Regions from separate parts of the Homo sapiens genome. Here regions 2, 3 and 4 are each linked to region 1. The links are contacts of gene promoters, found by promoter capture Hi-C in blood cells and fetal thymus (Javierre and others, 2016). All regions are on one chromosome and are shown on one strand. Each heading gives the region's core, a stretch centred on a gene start or on the middle of the fragment in contact. The rest is flanking DNA. Distances are from core to core; before and after follow the strand shown. Region 1 has its middle 22 kb from the start of OR1D5. Region 2 holds the start of NCBP3 (nuclear cap binding subunit 3). Region 3 holds the start of P2RX5 (purinergic receptor P2X 5). Region 4 holds the start of TRPV3 (transient receptor potential cation channel subfamily V member 3).

Region 1 (3,312 bases), core at 416-2,915:
TATATTCACTATTGCACTTTCAGTGGCATAGTTGGATTTTATCTGGACCCCATTGTCCATATTCCCTGGATTTTTCCTCATATTTCTTACTAGTGATAAGTTCTTATAAAACCCAACAATCGGCATTTTAGAACAAGGCCATAAAGACTTCCTTGCTGGTCTAATATTTAATTTTTTAATGGAATGTCTTGCAGGAGGATCCATAAAATTCATTTGACCCAATAATTTGAGCAAGCGTTCTACCATCTTTCTTATGAAGTGTCTGTGCCTTTCCTAGTACAGCCTCACTGGTGTGTGTATGATCATTCATTTGTACATTTTTATGTGGAGCTGGTTATGTTGCAGTTTGTTTTTATTAGTCCTTTGATATGAGCTGCTTTGTGTTATTATTTCACTCGATGGAGTCACTCATCAACTCATCCTTTTTTTTTTTTTTTTTTTTTTTTCTTTTCTGAGATAGAGTCTCGCTCTGTCACCCAGGCTGGAGTGCAGTGGTGCGATCTCGGCTCACTGCAACCTCCACCTCCTGGGTTCAAGCAATTCTCTGCCTCAGCCTCCCGAGTAGCTGGGATTACAGGCTCCCGCCACCACGCCCAGCTAATTTTTGTATTTTTAGTAGAGACGGGGTTTCACCATCTTGGCCATGCTGGTCTTGAACTCTTGACCTTGTGATCCACCCGTCTCGGCCTCCCAAAGTGCTGGGATTACAGGCGTGAGCCACCGTGCCCAGCCCTGAACTTTCCTTAGAACTGCACCCCATCTAAGAGGCCTTCACGCAACCTCCCTCACTCCCATCTCTCCTCCGTGCAGGGTCAGACCTGCATCACAGCCTGACAGCTTTTCCAGCCTCCTCCATATCCCACCTCCTCCGTTTTCACTCACAGGCCCTTCTCCTAATAATTTGTTGACGCTGTCTTGGTGTCTGCTTCTCAGACTCCCCAGACTCACCAGCGCTCTCCCCTGGGGCAGTATCAAAATGAGATGCCCCTTTGGCCCTTCTGCACCCCACCCTACCACACCAGGACAAAGAGGGGCACTGGTGTGAGAACTGACCAGCCATTTGTCAAAGAAAAATCACACCAGACAGAGTTAAATAGGCAAGGAAGATTTTACTCAAGACTACTGCAAAGGGGACAAAGACTGAACTCAACTTTGACACGTCAGGGACAGTTGCAGATTTATAGCCGATGGGCAGAGTGAGGAGTTTCCTTAGATGGGAAATTACTAAGAGGAGCCTAGGTATCAAGGGTGGGGGACGAGCAACTTGATCAAATATCAAGGGCAGGGCGATATTCACACTGGTTTATAAGATTCTTTGCTAAAACTGCCTTGGCAAACCAAGGACAGGTCGAGTGTGAGGCCTCATTGAAGAGACGGCCAGAGGATCCTGACTGAAGTACGGTCAAGGAGGGCGTCTTTGCCACGTCCCAAGCCAAGATCTGTACCCACCAGGCTTGCCCACCCCAGGAAATGGGTGAGAAGGGCTTTGCGTGGAATGTGAAGTTTACCACAAACAGGGCTGCGTCTGAACACACAAGAGACTGTTGTAATAACTGTTGTATTAACTGAGGATCACTGCAAGCTTAGGGAACTGGACCGCAATGTTGTTGTTAGAATAGAACCAGGGGACACCGAAGGTTGGTCAGAGCGCATGTGGGAGAGGGCATGGCTGGACACAGGGAGCACTCCAAAAACGAGACTGAGGGAAAATCTGAGCGCGGGCTGACCAGACTCCTCATGAAAGCTTTTCCCCCACGGAGCAGGCAAAACAGTGCCCCCACCCCCACCCCCACCCCCAAAATGTCCAGTGACTGCTACAAGCTGTTAGACGCTGAGTGGAAAAAACAGATTTTAAGAGTCCTAAAACTGAGCCCCAACCTGGAGGCGTGCCCACCTCGGGAGAAAGAACACCTGACCACAGACACCTAGACCGATCAGGGAGCTTTCAGAACCCTAGGAGAGCCTGCAGGCTTGGAGGGACAATACCGACCAGCATAGCTGATGACTTCCATGCCTCCTACATTTCCCACAGAGACAGGACATGTTCCACCTCCACAAAGTGTCCAGATATAGGTAACCTCACATTTTCTGGGAGGAAGGGTTGAACCCAGGAAGCAGCCGAACCGTGAGGTACAGATGGGCACAGAGAGTTTGTGTGAAAGATGAAGCTTGACTTGCAGCCAAGGGGACTCAACAGGTGGAATCTAACACCCGAGAAATAAGACATCTGTAACCGTGGGCTCAGACAGGCACCACTTGGCACAGCATGATGGCAGAAGCGTGGGATGCTGGACACATGGGTTCCAGGACAGGGGCTCCAAGCTGGGCAGGGAAACCAGAGAGAGCCAGGATGCACTTTTCCTGATACATTTCTGTGCATCTAGAACCTTCCAAGTCTGGAACTTCCTTTCATATTGAGCTCAGCATATGAGATTTGGATCCCAAACTGAAATTTGAAACTGATCCCTTAAGTGAAACGGGAATAATACATGCCTTCGTGGGCTTTTCAGATGACTAAATTAGATGATCATTGTGAGTTCTGGGCTGGGGCAGTGGCTCACACCTGTCATCCCAGTGCTTTGGGAGGCCGAGGCAGGCGGATTACCTGAGGTCAGGAGTTCGAGACCAGCCTGGCCAACTTGGTAAAACCCCGTCTCTACTAAAAATACAAAAAATTAGCTGGGCGTGGTGGCACATGCCTGTAGTCCCAGCTACCGGGGAGGCTGAGGCAGGAGAATTGCTTGAACCTGGGAGGCAGAGGTTGCAGTGAGCTGAGATTGTGCCACTGCACTCCAGCCTGGGCGACAGAGTGAGACTCCATCTCAAAAAAAAAAAAAAAAAGTGAGTTCTGCTACGGCAGTTGTGTTGAAAATGGAAATGGAGTCCAATGTAGTTGATATAATAGGAAACAATCGGAGTATCATGGAAGTTGCCCTTTAGCTTACGCTCCTCATCCATGAGAAATATTAGGTGAGTGCCAAAACCGGCAGCCAGCTAAATCAAGCTGCACAGGGACACACAAAATACACATACACCTCCAACATCTGCCAGCTGCCTCAATACACCATGTGCCGGGGGCCATACCCATCCACCTCTGCTGTTACTGTCCATCCAATTTCAGAAAAGCTCTCTTTCCACCGCTTCACAACCTGCCAACAACCGATTCCACAAGCAAACTTCCCATCTTATTAAAGCTAAACTGCCTTTATTGTAGCCCTTATGTATTTCTCAATCATTTAACACGTGTAAAATTGTTATCAAGTTCCTGTCTTTTTATTTTTACGTCACTGACAAAGTGTTTGAGTGTTACGT
Region 2 (3,312 bases), core at 606-3,105, 800 kb before region 1:
CACACACACACACCCGTACATATTCTATGTATGCATTCAACCCATTTTTTTTTTTTTTTTTTGGAGACGGAGTCTCGCTCTGTCGCCCAGGCTGGAGTGCAGTGGTATGATCTCGGCTCACTGCAACCTCCACCTCCCGGGTTCAAGTGATTCTCCTGCCTCAGCCTCCCAAGTAGTGCATGCCACCATGCCCGGCTAATTTTTTTTTTTTAGTAGAGACACGGTTTCACCATGTTAGCCAGGATGATCTCGATCTCCTGACCTCATGATCTGCCCGCCTTGGCCTCCCAAAGTGTTGGGATTACAGGCATGAGCCACCGTGCCCGGCCTCAACCCAATTTTTAAAAGTACTTTGTGTCCCATTCATCAAATAAAACTAGTCCTCTAAAGAGCTCTGTCTTGTGTTTATCCTGTGGTTTAGCCCAAATTTAAGAAAAACTGTGATGTACTGCACCCCTTCTGTTGGACCCTGTATCTACATATAAATTATCACATTTAACCCTCACAACCTCCTTTGTAGGTAGGTAATGGTCCATTTTACTGATGAAGGAACTGAGACTCCAAAGTGCTAAGCAGCTTGCCTAAGGTCACACATGGTGGATGGGGCCCGGCCAGCCAGCTCGAAACCCAGGTGTGTCTGATGCTGACCATGCTCTTCCTTGGTTTATCATTATTTGCTCCTCCATGGTCAGAGCTGGTAGGGCCTCAGGGCCTCAGAGACTGTAGGGTCTCACCTATGCCCTCCTCAGATGGGAAAACAGACCCAAAAACCTGTCCAAGGTTACCCAGGGAGGAAGATGCAAAATCAGGACTCAGGCCGGGCGCGGTGGCTCATGCCTGTAATCCCAAGACTTTGGGAGGCCGAGGCGGGTGGATCGCTTGAGGTTAGGAATTCGAGACCAGCTTAGTCAACATGGTGAAACCCTGTCTCTACAAAAAAAAAAAAAAAAAAGAAAGAAAGAAAGAAAGAGGAGAGGGAGGAAGGAAGGAAAAGAGAAAGAAAGAAAAGAAGAAAGAAAGGAAGGAAGAAAGGAATAAAGAAAGAAAGAAAGAAAGAAAAAGAAAATCAGGACTCAGAACAGCAGCTGATCAGTGACACCCTCGGGACGCGTAGACAACCCCTCTCCCCCACCAGGCTCTCGTTAGAAATATCCGCCGGAAACTATGCTCACAGGTCTACAGTGGATGGCACCCTCAGGAGTCAGGAAATCGGCGTCCAAGTTCTGGCCTTTGGGCAGGTCTCTCCCTCTTGGAGTCTCAATTTTTGTGTATGTAACATGGGCCAATTTTGGGGAGACTTTTAAGAGACAAAGACTGGCAAGGCAAGTAACTTTATAAACCTACAGATTGTCCAGAGGTGATATATCAAGGCTCATTGTAAACTCTGGAAGACTTAGATCCAGCTTTTATCCCTTAAATGGCGTCACCTTGGGTCAATTTCTATGCCTCAGTTTCCTCATATATGAAATGGGGGTCAAAATAGGATCTACTTCATAGAGTTGTTCTAAGGGTTCGAGCGCTTGGAAGTGTCTGGCCCATAGTGATCACTCAGGAAAGTTGGCTTTTAGTACAGCTTTAGCCTCAAGGCGTAGCTACATTGTAACCCTTGACTACCCCGGTCTCCTCCAAGCTCCGTAGTTCCCGCAGGCCCCGCCCCCGTCCCCGCTCAGTCCCGCCTTCTCCTCCCCAGGTCCCGCCCGCGCAGCCGGCCCGGTTTTCTCCCGCCACCAGGGGGCGGCGGCGCTAAGGGCGGCCTTCTGGGCCGAAGCCGGCGACGCTCTAGGTAGCTGCGGCGGCTCCTCTGTGGCCAGTGGCAGCGGCGCTCTAGCCGGCGGCCGTGAGGGGCGGGCTCTCAGTGGTGCGGCCGGCAGGCAGCGATGGCGGCCGTACGGGGCCTGCGGGTGTCGGTGAAGGCGGAGGCCCCGGCGGGGCCGGCCCTGGGGCTCCCGTCCCCTGAGGCGGAGTCCGGTGTTGACCGTGGCGAGCCGGAGCCCATGGAGGTGGAGGAGGGCGAGCTGGAAATCGTGCCTGTGCGGCGCTCGCTCAAGGAACTGATCCCGGTACGGGCGGGGGTCGGGGGGTAAGGAAGAGGTCGCGGGGCTAGTGTCTAGCGCCGGAGGGGGCCGGAAGGGGCGGTGGCCGGAGCCCCAGCCGGGGAAGTCAAGGGAGCGGGAGAGGAGGGAGCCAGCGTCCTGGGAACGGGAACGCCGGGCTGGAGGAGGGACGCGGAGCGGGAGAAAGGACGCCGGGGCGCCGGAAATGGGTGTTGAGGGGGCTGGGGGGTGGTGGCGGAGAGCTGGGAGGGAGTTGAGGACCCCCCTCCGCTGCCCCCTCTGAGCCGCGCTGTGCAAGGAGGTGAGTGAGGAGGGGCTGGAAGGATGAGATAAAGGGGGAGCCCTGGGCGGGAACAGAACCAGGGGCAGCCCAGAAGGAGCTGTTGGGTGGCGCCAGCAACCAGGTCTCCTTGTGGGTCTTGCCCCGGAGGAATTTGTATCTGGGAAACATGGCACTCGCTCTTTGTCTTGAGAGGGCTGCACTTGTCAGCAGCAGAAACTCACTGTTTCTGTCGTGACTTCGGGGTCATCTTGCCCCCCCCGCAGCTCCAGTGACACCTACACCGTGGCCCCAGCATCTGACTCTTAATGAAAGCAAACTAGCAGACGACCAATAGACATCCTTGGTCCCTCCTTTACCGCGCTGGGGATGGTGAGAGGTGTTTTGCTTGTGACTTGGTGGCTGTATATCCAGTTCTCAGAGCTGGTTTCAGGCCTGGATGACTCCTCTTAATTTCTCACCTAACATGAATTACTTTTGACCACATGTCAACATATTTAGACTGAAGTTATGGAGAAAGGTTAAAGTATGATCGCTAGAGATGGCAAACGTTATAATTATGATTAACAACAGCTAATATAGTAGCATTTACCATTCACTATATTGTGTCACTTAAATATACTGGCCGTGCACGCCTTTAGTGCCAGCTATTCAGGAGTCTAAGTTCCAGACCAGCCTCAGCAATATAGCAAGACCCCTTTGAGGTCCCCCCTTTCCCCTCTCCCCATCTCAAAAACAAAACCAAAATAAATAAATATTACTGCAGTTGTGAAGCAGGTGTTATCATCCCTTTAGTCATTCAGTTCAACATGGTTTTTGTTTTGTTTTGTTTTGAGACGGAGTTCGCTCTTGTTGCCCAGGCTGGAACGCAATGGCGCGATCTCGGCTCACCGCAACTTCCGCCTCCCGGGTTCAAGCCATTCTCCTGCCTCAGCCTCCTGAGTAGCCAAGTACAATGGCCTGATCTTGGCTCACCGC
Region 3 (3,312 bases), core at 410-2,909, 650 kb before region 1:
ACTTTGGGTGGGCAATAATAACAGGCCTTTTTGAAGAAATGGCAGTTGAGTTGAAATGGATGAAAAGATGCAAAGATCCACGCTTTCCCAAATGACAGTTTGAGAGCAAAATACAGGTTCCCAGCCCCATCTTAGATTTCGTGAATGAAAATTTGAGGGGCAGGGCCTAGGAATTTGCCTTTTTTTCTTCCACATGATTCCCATGCACTTTGAAACTGGACACCTTCCTTGGGGCTTTTACTTTAGAATCACACTGATGAATTTCAGGGTACCTTCCAGTTCCCCGAGTCTGTGGCTTAGGGAAGGGAGCCTCTTTGTGTGTGAAAGCCAGGGGTAGGGAGAGGAGCAGGACTGCTTGTGGTCAGACTGCAGGATGCAGAAAATAAGCGTGCGCAGCTCCTCACCACACCGCGCTCACCCAGGGCCCTGCGTCTTTGGCTGTCAGGAGTTCTAAACCTGCCCCCCCGGAGGCCCTCCCTCATCCCACTCCCACTCCTGTTGAATTCCACATACTGAGAGGGTTGCAGTCATAGCTGCATGGATCAGTTCTATTTCTTGTGCGTTGGGAACCATTCCAAACAGTTGGTACATGCGCACTCTCCAGGCATATTTTTAGGATCCTAGGGTGGGTTGCCTGTGTCTCCCCGCCCCCACCCCGTCTGCCCCCCACCCCCGCACCATCCGCCCTGAGTGTGGGAGGGAGGTCTTCATGCTGCCGGCACTCGGGACCTGCCTGACCACCGACTCCGCCGGAGTGTGGGCTTTTAAACCTGCAGCAGCTGCTGCAGTAGAAACGCGCATTAGTCGCAGCAGACACAGGCAGCCTCAGGTGGGACAAGTCTTGTCTCTTCCAGCCTGTGGGGGAGCCACGGCTTCCCCCCCACAACCACCCCCTGCCCACGGAGCAAGAATGTATCTCCCTGGCAGGAGACCTGGCGCGAGGTGAATGGAGAAACCTGTTGTGTCCCCTTCCTTCCTCCCCTGGCCTCAGTTCCCCATCTATTCAATAGGAAGAACCCTTTGGGATTTCTTTGCGAGAGAAAGGGGAGTTTTGCTTTAAACGGAGCTCTTCCCGGCCGTGCGCGGTGGCTCACGCCTGTAATCCCAGCACTTTGGGAGGCCGAGGTGGGCGGATCACCTGAGGTCAGGAGTTCAAGACCAGCCTGGCCAACATGGTGAAACCCCGTCTCTACTAAAAATACAAAAATTATCACGCCTGTAGTCCCAGCTACTTGGGAGGCTGAGGCAGGAGAATCGCTTGAACCCGGGAGGCGGAGGTAGCAGTGAGCTGAGATCGCACCACTGCACTCCAGCCTCGGCGACAGAGCGAGGCTCCGTCTCAAAAATAAATGAATAAATAAATTTAAAATAAAATAAAAAGGAGCCCTTCCCCCTTTCACTTCCTCTCCTCCGCGATCGCTGCTTTCAGCTGGGCAACAGCACAGGGCGGTCCTGCGCATCCGGGGGGCTGCGCTCCCAGACCGGTGGCTGGGGAGTAGGTTGCAGGGGTGTCACTGTGTCAGGGGAGGAGGAGGAGGAGGAGGAAGAAGAGGTAGCGGCAAGGTCGCGGTCTGAGGTTCCGGTGCTCGCCGCCGCCCAGCTCCCAGCCGAGGCTTTCTCAACCGCGTCAATAAAAGGCCGCCCCGACCCGCCCCCGCGCCCCGCAGCCCTGCCGGACACCCCGGGCTGCAGCTGAGCGGGCGCAGACGGGCCGAGGCGGGCGCCGGGCGCGCAGGGACCGAGGGACCGAGTGCTCCCCATGAGCGCACGTGGGCCGGGCGGTCCGCAAGCCCGGCTGAGAGCGCGCCATGGGGCAGGCGGGCTGCAAGGGGCTCTGCCTGTCGCTGTTCGACTACAAGACCGAGAAGTATGTCATCGCCAAGAACAAGAAGGTGGGCCTGCTGTACCGGCTGCTGCAGGCCTCCATCCTGGCGTACCTGGTCGTGTAAGTTCTCCGCGGACTTTTGGGAAGGCGGGGGAGGGGCAGGGCGGGTGCCAGCCGCCGCGTCCTTCTCCAGGGTCCTGGAATTCGCAGGCGTGCACGCGGTTTTCCCGGTAGCTGGGGGTCTGTGAGCCTGCTTGCTGTGGGGGTCCTCTTTGGGTCCTTGGGTGTAGGAGTAGGGTGTAGAGAGGGGGCTCTCCACTCCCCCACTGGCGCTAGAGGTGATGAGAGGTGGGCAGGGGCCTTCTGGTTTCCTCGATTTATCAGGCTTTCCCTGCAGCTGCTTCTCCCAGAGTCGGGTCCCCACGTGTTAGGGCCATGGGAAGGGGGCAGGGATGCCAGGGGGCTGGGTGGCAGCTGTCGCCCCAGGAGCCTCCCTGGGCCTTGGCCTGGCAGCTGACCCAGGCGCCGGCAGGTTATTTATAATCACAGGGTGTCACTGCCTACTCAGAGCTGGAGAAACTCATCAGCCCGGCATGTTCCTGAGCTCCCTTCCGGTCAACTTGCCCCACCCGCGGCCAGCCTCTCTGGTGTCCAGCTGGGGGTCCTGCCCAGAGGCCTCTATCTCTGCACCCAGCTCGGCCATCCCCTTCCCCCATCCTCATGCCACCTGGCAGGAGCTGGCGCCACAAAGCCAAAGAGGCAACTTGTGGAGGCTGCTCTGCCAGGCGCCTTCAGAGCCCTGACCCCGGGGTGGGTCGGGGGTGAGCAGGTGGAGGGGAGAAGCAGCGCTGGACAATGGGGATGCGCCTCATTCCACTCGTTCAGTAAATGCGGTGGAGTTCCTCCTGCTTCCTCCTGGGAGGGCAGCCCTGACGCCTGGCTCTCCCTCGGAGGTCCAGCAGTCCGCGTTCTCTGAGCTGCATCCCCAGGCCCCTGGCCGCCTCCCACCTGAGCGGCCTCGTAGGCGCTGTGCTGTTGCTCAGCCAGGCCTGCCCGTCCTCCTCCACTCCCTTAGCATCCACTCAGCCCCCAGATCTGGGCTTTCCAGTAACTCCCTCTCCCTTCCTCCCTGGCCTTCCCACAGTGTAATTATTGGGCTTATTTGGGGGATCATTTGCCTGATGTCGCTGTCAGTCCGGGAATGCCCTGAGGGTGGGGCCCCAGCAGCACTTAACTGCTTAGGGAATAGATGTGAAATGAACGCATGAATGAATAAATGGAGTTGCTTTTGCTTGAACAATAGAAATTTAATTCTCGCAGTCCTGGATGTGGAAATCTGAGACGAGGGTGGTAGCATGGTTCGGGGTCTCAGGGGGGGCTCTCTCCTTGGCTTGCAGATGGCCACCCTCTCGCTGTGTCCTCACATGGCAGGGAAAGCAGGACATATTTAACTAAGTACAAGTATGAAAATTAGGAAATTGGCGGCC
Region 4 (3,312 bases), core at 813-3,312, 520 kb before region 1:
GTTGCCCAGGCTGTACAGTGGTGCAGTCTCGGCTCACTGCAACCTCTGCCTCCTAGGTTCAAGCAATTCTCCTGCCTCAGCCTCCCGAATAGCTGGGACTACAGTGTGCAGCACCTCACCCCGCTAATTTTGTATTTTTAGTAGAGACGGGGTTTCACCATGTTGTGGCCTCTTCCCTCCTTCCAAGTCCAGGCAGATGCTCCCTCTTTCCCGAACTCATCCCCTACACCCCATCACAGGGACTTCCTCCCGCCTTGGGGGTCTCAGCCCATTTTGTCCTGATGACCCACATGGTGGGTCATGGTTCCTGCCTGAGCCTGTGTCCCCTGTGGCCCACGAGGGTGGACACGGCCTTCTCCAGTTCTGAATCCCTCGTTGTCCACCTGCGCCCTTGCCACGGCCTCTCCCGTGGGCTCTCACCATGTGCTGGGTTAAATGGGGTTGAATATAGACCATCTAAGGGGCTGAAGCTGCTGCTTCTGTGTGTTTGGGGTGGGATTAGGATGGGCTCGGGCTTCCTAAGTAGTGACTGTGACTCCACTGGGTGACCTGGCTCCTGCTGCCTCTCATAGCAGAGCGGGGGTCCCCTTCTTCCTTGCTGGGCACAGGGCACACCTCTGGGTGGGAGACAGGGGCCTTTTTCACCAGCTCCCACCTGCCCTCTGAGAAAAGTTATGAACACGAGCAAAATGGAAGCACTGACATTTGGCAGCAGCTTCCTCCCCAGGCGTCTGAGCCGCCAGAGGCAAACAGGGAGGGCGCGGGGCTGGGTCGGGAGAGGGTGAGTAAGCTAGTGGCCGGAGGCCGTGCTCAACCCCAGATCGGGCTTTTCCGGTCGAGTTTCAGGCACAGTCATGAGATTTCAGATTGTGAGTGGGAACTTCAGGACCCCCTGACTTCAACGGCAGAAGCGGTCTCCTGCTTCACCCACACCCTCAAGTCTGGTCTGCCCCTTACCGGCCATAGGTCCTGCTCTCCCGTGGCCTAGAAGCCTCACCTGCCTCCTGCCTCCTCCCCAGGCCAGGCAGGTTGTGATGATGAGGGATTGAGAGGCTCACAGCTGGGGATTTCCCTGCCCATCAGGCGCCAGCTGCGGCCGCGTCAGCAGAGACTTCCTGCTCTGTCCCAGCTGTGTCTTGTCCACATCTCGCCCCGGGGAGCAGGTGTGCAGTTCCTGAGTGACGCGAGACACACACGGCCATCCTGACTCACTCCACCCACTTCACAGCTGCAGCCTGGGCCAGGAGAGAGGGCACCGATTCCTTCTATGACGCCCTGGCCTTGGAGAAGGGCAACCTGGGCAGTTGCTGGGAGAATACATTGAGATGACAAAAGCAATCATAGCTAAGAGCTGACATTGTTTATTGAGTTCTTGCCGTGCCCTGGGCCTTGTTCTGGCCCTTTCTACTTGTACTTGTTGAAGCCCCACGATAACCTTGCAAAGTGGGTTTATGAAGCACGTTTCACAGATGAGGAGACTGAGGCTCGGAGAAATGACCTGCTAAGGTCATTCAGCCAGGAAGGGGTGAGGCTGACACTAAGGGCCATGATGCGTGACTGCTGGTGGACAGCATTAAATGGGGACTTCCGTCCCCGAGAGACCTGATCCCAGGAACCGACTTTTGAGAACAAGTGCCGAGTCTTGGGGCTGGCCACCCTGAGGTCAACCAGGCTAGGCCTGGGCTGCGGTCTTCCCTCCCAGGGGACAGAGCAGAGCGCTTGACTCTTCACTAGGCCCTCCCACCTCTGTGATCTCTTTGGCTCTTCACGGCTCCCTTGGAAAGTAGATGTTATCATTCCCATTTCCTAGTTGGAAAAATAGGCCTGAGATGGGCAGTCCCTGCCCAGCATGGAATGCCAGAGAGGGAGGAGTTGGACCCACAACTTCGATCTTGGCACCTGCGGCCTCCCCTGCCTTTTCTCCGGTGGGGATGAGGCTGCTGTGTGGGTGTGGGGGTGACTCACACGGGCCACGTGGGTGGGCGGGTGCTGCAGCTGTGGCTGGTGGGCGTGGCCTGCCTGGCGCCGAGGGCAGGTGGCTCAGCCAGTTCTGCCTCTGACGCCTCATTCCAGCCATCCCTCTGCCTGCAATGAGAGCTTCCCGCCGCCTCAGCCACAGTCCCACCCGGGGGCCTTGGGCCCCAGACATGCGGTGATCTCAGGGCAAGGGTTGCCACGACCACCCAGAACCTCACCAGGTGAGTCTTCTGTGCACAAGGCAGCTGGTGATCTCCAAGGCCCCTGGGGAGCCCAGAGCGTGGCCCTCAGAGGTCCTCTGGGCCATGTCTGCCCTTGGCCAATAGGCCTTGGGAGGAGGGTTGGAAGGAGCTTGGGCCCCAGCCAGGGGCCCACTCTTGGCTGTAGGGAGGCACTCTTGGCTGCACTCTTGGCTGTAGGGATGTGTGAGAATATAGGTCCTTACAGACTCAGGAACATTCCCCTGAGGTTTGGGAATCCTGGGGAGGGACATCTCAATCTCACCACTGCTGGGGGCAGAGGAGAGGCTCCTGCCTCCCGAGGCTGACCCAGGGAGGTGGCTTTCTGGGGCAGGATTGTGATGGGAGTTCAGGATGGGAGGAGGTGGCCCCACCGTGGGAGACAGACGGGGCCCAGGCATCTCACAGGTGCTGAGTCAGCAGCTGTGGCTCCGCGGCCTGGTCTGTCGCCCGGGAAAGGCCATTTCAATCAGTGTCAGGGATTGGGAGAGAGAGGGAGGGCCAGGGCAACAAGAGAGTCCAGCAGGTGAGAACGTGGGGTTTACGGGGTGACTCAGGGAGCTAATGATAGCTGCTGCGGCCCTAGTCCAGAGTTCCCTGAGCCTCTCCTGCCCCAGAGGCCCAGGGCAGGCCACATTCTCGGGCCCAGAGAAGAGAGAGAGCAACCAGCTCTCAGGGCCACAGAGTCCTTGGGGACCATTCAGCCCACTTCTCAGAAAGGAAACCAGAGGCCCTGGGAGGGGCAAGAGACGTGCCCTTCTTCTGTCTCCTTCACGCTCGGTGCATCCCAGCCTTTTAGTCCACCAAAGGCCACGTGGGGATGGGGAAAGCCATAGAGGCTGCCCATCCTCATCAGGCCGTGACTGGACACGGGAGGGCCGGGTGCCCAGGAGTCCCTCTCTGTGGGCTACTCCACCTGCCTGGCCTCAAGGTTGCCTACGCTCCAGGGCCAAAGCTCTCCCTCGCCGATGCCTCCTCCATCCTGAGCCTGCTCCCTTTGAGTTGGAGGGCGGGGGACTCTCTCCAGCCTGATGACACCTGGCTCCGGAAACTTCCTCCAGGAAGCTTTCCTATTGGGGTAGGATCACCAGTGGCC

The links. The method cuts DNA at HindIII sites, captures the fragments that hold promoters and counts their contacts. A CHiCAGO score of 5 or more calls a contact.
Region 2: the fragment with the promoter of NCBP3 here is called in contact with a fragment that was not itself captured in region 1 in 2 of 17 cell types (naive B cells and total B cells); the score reaches 5.3 in naive B cells.
Region 3: a contact is called between the fragment with the promoter of P2RX5 here and a fragment that was not itself captured in region 1, in 5 of 17 cell types (endothelial precursors, M0 macrophages, M1 macrophages and 2 more). The highest score is 8.9, in endothelial precursors.
Region 4: the fragment with the promoter of TRPV3 here is called in contact with a fragment that was not itself captured in region 1 in 2 of 17 cell types (M1 macrophages and M0 macrophages); the score reaches 6.8 in M1 macrophages.

The regions. Positions count from the first base shown.
Region 1 is chr17:3,039,996-3,043,307 of GRCh38, reverse strand. No RefSeq gene overlaps it. Among named protein-coding and RNA genes, the nearest start is that of OR1D5, 22 kb to the left of the region's middle. The HindIII fragment of the contact is 162 bases long and covers 1,585-1,746 here.
Region 2 is chr17:3,844,789-3,848,100 of GRCh38, reverse strand. NCBP3 (nuclear cap binding subunit 3) reads left to right here and starts at 1,855. Exons shown (of 13, transcript NM_001114118.3): 1 at 1,855-2,060. The coding sequence starts at 1,878. RefSeq lists silencers at 1,567-1,686, 1,867-2,156. The HindIII fragment of the contact is 12,990 bases long and covers 1-3,312 here.
Region 3 is chr17:3,694,502-3,697,813 of GRCh38, reverse strand. It overlaps P2RX5 (purinergic receptor P2X 5), which reads left to right and starts at 1,659. Exons shown (of 12, transcript NM_002561.4): 1 at 1,659-1,945. The coding sequence starts at 1,809. It overlaps P2RX5-TAX1BP3 (P2RX5-TAX1BP3 readthrough (NMD candidate)), which reads left to right and starts at 1,410. Exons shown (of 15, transcript NR_037928.1): 1 at 1,410-1,945. RefSeq lists a silencer at 1,430-1,789 and enhancers at 1,910-1,959, 2,072-2,588. The HindIII fragment of the contact is 7,185 bases long and covers 1-3,312 here.
Region 4 is chr17:3,556,562-3,559,873 of GRCh38, reverse strand. TRPV3 (transient receptor potential cation channel subfamily V member 3) reads left to right here and starts at 2,062. Exons shown (of 18, transcript NM_145068.4): 1 at 2,062-2,198. RefSeq lists enhancers at 231-1,045, 954-1,183, 1,214-1,263, 1,344-1,403, 1,046-1,862 and 2 more and a silencer at 3,044-3,103. The HindIII fragment of the contact is 5,895 bases long and covers 1-3,283 here.